Regions from separate parts of the Homo sapiens genome. Here region 1 is linked to region 2. Evidence: promoter capture Hi-C in 16 types of primary human blood cells and fetal thymus (Javierre and others, 2016). All regions are on one chromosome and are shown on one strand. The core of a region is centred on a gene start or on the middle of the fragment in contact, and the rest is flanking DNA. Distances in the headings are between cores, read along the strand shown. Region 1 overlaps LINC02320 (long intergenic non-protein coding RNA 2320). Region 2 holds the start of WDR25 (WD repeat domain 25).

Region 1 (2,716 bases), core at 215-2,714, 1.3 Mb before region 2:
AAGCCTGGAATAACTGGATTAATATAAAAAAAGATTTAAGGCAGAAGATTTTTACCAAGGATAAGGACACTAATTTCTTTCTCTCTCTCTCTCTCTCCTCTTTTCTTTTCTTTCTTTTTTTTTTTTTTTTTTTGAGACAGGGTCTCGCTCTGTCACCCAGGCTGGAGTGCAGTGTTGCCATCTCGGCTCACTGCAACCTCCGCTTCCCGAGCCAAGTGATCCTCCAACCTTAGCCTCCTGAGTAGCTGGGACCACAGGCATAAGCCACCATGCCTGGCTCATTTTTGTATTTTTTGTAGAGACAGGGTTTCTCCATGTTGTCCAGGCTGACCTTGAACTCCTGAGCTCAAAGTGTTCCACCCACCCCAGCCTCCCAAAGTGCTAGGATTACAGGTGTGGGCCACCACAAATGGCTAGGAAGCCAATTTCATAATGATAAAGATTTCAATTCACCAAGAGAACAAAAACAATTCTAAATGTTAATGCACCTAACAAAAGAGCTCTAAAATGCATGAAGAAAATCTGATAGAACCAGAAGGAGAAATAGACACAGTGAAAATCAGAGATTTCAATACCTCTTTTTCAATAATTTTTGAGAGCAATTAGATAGAAAGTCAGTATGAATATGAAAACTTGAACAATGCTATTGATAACTTGAACTAATTGACATTTATAGGACACTCTACTCAACAACAGGAGGACACACTTTTTTAAAAATACAGAATGTTTACCATATTTGACTATATTGTGAGCTATAAAACAAATCTCAACATATTTAAAATGATTCAAGTCATATCAATACAGGCATACCTCTGAGGTATTGTGGGTTTGGTTCCAGATCACCACAATAAAATGGATATTGCAATAAAGTGAGTCACATGATTTTTTTGGTTTCCCTGAACAAATAAAAGTATGTTTACCCTATTCTGTAGCTTTCAAGTGTGCAATAGCATGATATCTAAAAAGCAATGTACATATCTTAATTCAAAATACTTCATTGCTAAAAATGCTAACTATCATCTGAGCCTTCAGCAAGTCATAGTCTTTTTGCTGGTGGAGGATCTTACCTTGATGTTGATGGCTGTTGACTGATCAGGGTGGTGGTTACTGGCAGTGGTTGTGGCAATTTCTTTCTTTCTTTTTTTTTGAGATAGGGTCTCACTCTTTACCCAGGCTAGCATGCAGTGGCACAATCATAGTTCACTGCAACCTCAAACTCCTGGGTTCAAGGGATCCTCCCACCTTAGCCTCCTGAGTAACTGGGACTACAGGCATGTGCCACTGTGTCTGGCTGATTTCTTTAATTTTTTTGTAGAGTCAAGGTCTCTTTTTATTGTCCAGGCTGGTCTGGAACTCCTGGCCTCAAGTGATATTCCCCACTTGGCCTCCCAAAGTGTTAGGATTACAGGCATGAGCCATTGTGCCTGGCCCAATTTCTTAATATGAAACAAGAATGAAGTTTGTCACATTGATGGACTTTTCCTTTCATGAAAGATTTCTCTGTAGCTTGTGATGCTATTTGGCAGCATTTTACCCACAGTAGAACTTTCAAAATTGGAGTCAGTCCTCTCAAAGCCTGCCACTGTTTTATCAACTGGGTTTATGGAATATTCTAAATCCTCTGTTGTCATTTCAACAGTGTTCACAGCATCTTCACCAGGAGTTATTCCATTTCAAGAAACCACTTTATTTGCTCAGCCATAAGAACCAACTCCTCATCTGTTCAAGTTTTCTCATGAGATCGTAGCAATCCAGTCACATCTTTAGGCTCCACTTATAATTCTGGTTCTCTTGCTATTTCTATCATATCTGCAGTTCCTTCCTCTACTGATGTCTCGAACCCCTCAAAGTTATCCATGAGGGTCGGGACCAACGTCTTCCAAACTCTTGTTTTATTTTGAGACAAGGTCTCACTTTGTCACCCAGGCTGGAGGTCAGTGGTGTGATCTTGGCTCACTGCAGCCTCGACTTCTGGGCTCAGGTAATCCTCCCATCTCAGCCCCCAAAGTAGCTGGGACTACAGGTGCACGGCACCATAGCCAGCTAATTTTTGCATTTTTAGTAGAGATGGGGTTTTACCATGTTGTCCAGGCTGGTCTCAAACTCCTGGACTCAAGCCATCCGCCCTCCTCAGCCTCCCAAAATGCTGGGATTACAAGCACGAGCCACTGTGCCCGCCCAAACTCCTGTTAATGCTGCTATTTTGACCTCTTCCCATGAATCACAAATGTTCTTAATGGCATCTAGAATTGTGAATTCTTTCCAGAAAGTTTTCAATTTACTTTGCCTAGCTCCATCAGGGGAAGCATACCTACGGCAGCTATAGTGTTATGAAACGTGTTTCTTAAATAACAAGACTTGAAAGTCAGAATTACGCTTTGACTCATGGGCTGCAGAATGGACGTTGTCCTAGCAGGCATAAAAACATTAATCTCCTTGTACACCTCCATCAGAGCTGTTGGTTGACTACAGGCACTGTCATGAACAGTAATATTTTGAGAGAAATTTGAGCATGGGTCTCAAGAGTGGCTTTAAAGTATTCAGTAAGCCATGCTGTAAACGTGCTGTCATCCAGGTTTTGTTGTTCCATCTAGAGAACACATGCAGAGTAGATTTAGCATAATTCCCTAGGATTTGCAGAATGGTAAATGAACACCGGATTCAACTCAAAGTCACCAGCTGCATTAGCCCCTGCCAAGAGTGTCAGCGTGTCCTT
Region 2 (2,824 bases), core at 185-2,684:
CCAACAGGTGGAGTCAGGTCAGCATCAACAGATTCCCTCCAAGTCCTTTTCTAAGTCATTCCAGACAGCCTATTACCCATCTCTTCTTCTAGACAATGGGTTTCTATGTCCCCTGGAATCAACCACCCAACCTCTTCCACACCTTTCCCCCAAGTGGCATCATTCGCCTGAGGGTTCCACTGGTCTACAAGTCAGGTCATCATTCCATAAATGTCTGTAGTCAGCCTCCTCTAGTAATGCCGCCCCCGTTCGCAGCCCATTCCAGGCAGGTAACAACTTCCACACGCAAAGCCAGAGTTTAAATAAAACGACCGGGCGCGGTGGCTCACGCCTGTAATCCTAGCACTGTAGGAGGCCGAGAAGGGCGGATTACCTGAGGTCGGGGGTTCAAGACCAGCCTGGCCAACATGGTGAAACCCCGTCTCTACTAAAAATACAAAAAAAAAAAAAATTTAGCCGTGTGCAGTGGTGCGCGCCTGTAATCCCAGCTACTCTGGAGGCTGAGGCCGCAGAATTGCTTGAACCCGGGAGGCGGAGGTTGCGGTGAGTGGAGATCACGCCACTGCACTCCAGCCTGGGCTACAGAGCGAGACTTGGTCTCAAAAAACAACAACAACAACAACAACTTCTAAAGCCAGCCAGCCAGCTCATCTCCAATGGAACTAATATAATATGAAAGACTAATTATAAACTAATGGAACCGTGCACTGCAAATAATTTGGCATTTCTGTTCTCTAAATGCTAAGCCTGGTCCCGAGGCCACTCTCAACTCCTCTGCCCAGGCACCACCCACCATGCACCCAGATTCCCACCACCAGGGTGCCCGTGCTCCCTCTGGAAGGAGATGAGGGATTAAACGAAGAGGAACAGACAGTAAGATGGAAGGGAAGGCAGGGACACTGGAGAAGAGTCTAAGGAAGGAGCGAGTGACTCTGACAGTCACTATCAGCAAGTCAGCCCCATGAGGACAGGACTTTCTGTGTTTTGTTCACTATTCAATGCCCAGCGTCTAAAAATATTTCTGGAATGCAAACGGGTGGGAGGGGGAGATGCTAGGAAGTAAAAGAAATAGGATATTCCCATTCAACAAACATTTCCTGATTACGTACTCTTTGTCAAGCCCTATGCTGGGTCTGGTGTGGGTGGAAATCAAACACAAAACACAGATCCCCCCGGAGGCCCCAGAGCGATGAAAGCAACAAACAAGATACGACCAGAGATGGGTTTTGAAGGATGAATAGGAGTTAGCTGAGCTGTCAATAGTAAGAAGTAAGGTTGGTCCAAGGCACAGCGCTTTCTGAAGGAACAGGAAGTGAAAGGAAGGCGAGCGGCTATGAGAGACCGCGTTAAGCGGCACGGGGCGCTTTAGGCGCTGCCCAGTCCCGGCCCCTCCAGCCCGGGGCCCGCCGCTCACCACACGCACCGGAAGCGCTCGGTTCTCCCGGAGGCAGACCGGCCAGCACACTACCATCCAGTCACGTTCCGACGCGACGCCGCGGCCGCCAGCCAATCAGTGGCGGCCTCTGCCCCGCCCCCGCGCGAACAGCCAATGACGGCGCCGTCGGGCCGGAAGTTGTTCCGTCCGGACGGCGTTTCCACGGACGCCCAGGAGACAGCCGGTTGCTGAGCCGGGAGCGCTGACTGGCCCGGCTGGGCAGGGTAAGCGAGGGGAGTAAGGCCGGGGCGGAGTGAGGAAACAAGGGAGGGAGTGATGGAGGGACGCTGGCGCGGCGCCCAGTGGCCTGGCCCTCCCGGGAGTATCCTTAGAGCCCGGCTTGCTGCCCGCCGCGTTCTGGCACTGTGAGGCGCGGAGCCTGCCACCGACCCCTCGCCCCTTTCCTCTGAGCGCCGCCGACCCACCCCGTCTCCCTTTCCCACTGGCACCCTTCATCGTCTCCGCCTGTTCGCTTTTCCCGAGGAGAGAGGCCCCCATTTTTATTTAGCGCCTGCCATGTGCCAGAGGCTTTGCGTAGTGTTGCACTTAGTCCCCTCAACGGTAATGTTAGCAGGCTTCTCCATGCCCATTCCACAGATGAGGAAACCGAAGGGGAAGCAGAAAAGTAATGCGACCCTTGCCCAAGGTTTCGAATAAGTCCAAGCTGGGATTGAAACCCAGGCGTCTGTGACCCCAGAACTCCTGATCTTTCCACTGCACTGTGCCGCCTCGGTGAACAGATGCGGGGAATTTACAGTTTCTCTTTCCACCGCCCACGACTACACAAAATCAGTCACACTGACGCTGAGGGTGGGGAACGGGAAGAGGGTGGGGAGGTTATTTGGAGGCCAGCGGGGGGTGAGGGGTGGCTGATGCAATGACCAGCTAATGGCTCGATTCTCAAGAGGGTTTCATTGGTCTCAACCTGGCCCCCCAGGCAACCCACCCCTGATTGGACAGTCTCATCAAGAAGGTTGGTCAAGAGCTCAAGTGTTTCTGAGAATCTGGGTGATTTATAAGAAACCCTTAGCTGAATGCAGGGTGGGGAGAACGAAAGACAAAAGCATCTTTTTTCAGAAGGGAAACTGAAAGAAAGAGGGGAAGAGTATTAAAGACCATTTCTGGCTGGGCAGGGCACTCTCAGCAGCTCAACTGCCCAGCGTGACCAGTGGCCACCTCTGCAGTGTCTTCCACAACCTGGGTATGTATTGCCATCTTTGCCAGGCTTAGAGCTTGTTCGTGTTTTTAGCAAAGTGCTGAAAACCTTGGTTTAGGGGGTCAGGACTTGTGTCTTAGGATTAGGGTGTTATGCATTTTACTTCTTCCATTGACCCAAAGTTCAGGTGATTCACTGCTCCCATAGGGAACAGAGATCCTGGCTGAGCAGTC

What was found. Contacts are between HindIII fragments. The CHiCAGO score rates a contact against its expected background, and 5 or more counts as called.
Region 1: a fragment that was not itself captured here is called in contact with the fragment with the promoter of WDR25 in region 2 in 8 of 17 cell types (endothelial precursors, M0 macrophages, naive CD8 T cells and 5 more); the score reaches 9.4 in endothelial precursors.

The regions. Positions count from the first base shown.
Region 1 is chr14:101,655,727-101,658,442 of GRCh38, reverse strand. The region is part of intron 1 of LINC02320 (long intergenic non-protein coding RNA 2320); the gene reads left to right. Among named protein-coding and RNA genes, the nearest start is that of LINC00239, 73 kb to the left of the region's middle. The HindIII fragment of the contact is 3,632 bases long and covers 1-2,716 here.
Region 2 is chr14:100,375,095-100,377,918 of GRCh38, reverse strand. WDR25 (WD repeat domain 25) reads right to left here and starts at 1,434. Exons shown (of 7, transcript NM_001161476.3): 1 at 1,424-1,434. It overlaps WARS1 (tryptophanyl-tRNA synthetase 1), which reads left to right and starts at 2,572. Exons shown (of 11, transcript NM_004184.4): 1 at 2,572-2,636. RefSeq lists silencers at 1,301-1,350, 1,541-1,600 and enhancers at 2,111-2,470, 2,481-2,620. The HindIII fragment of the contact is 16,259 bases long and covers 1-2,824 here.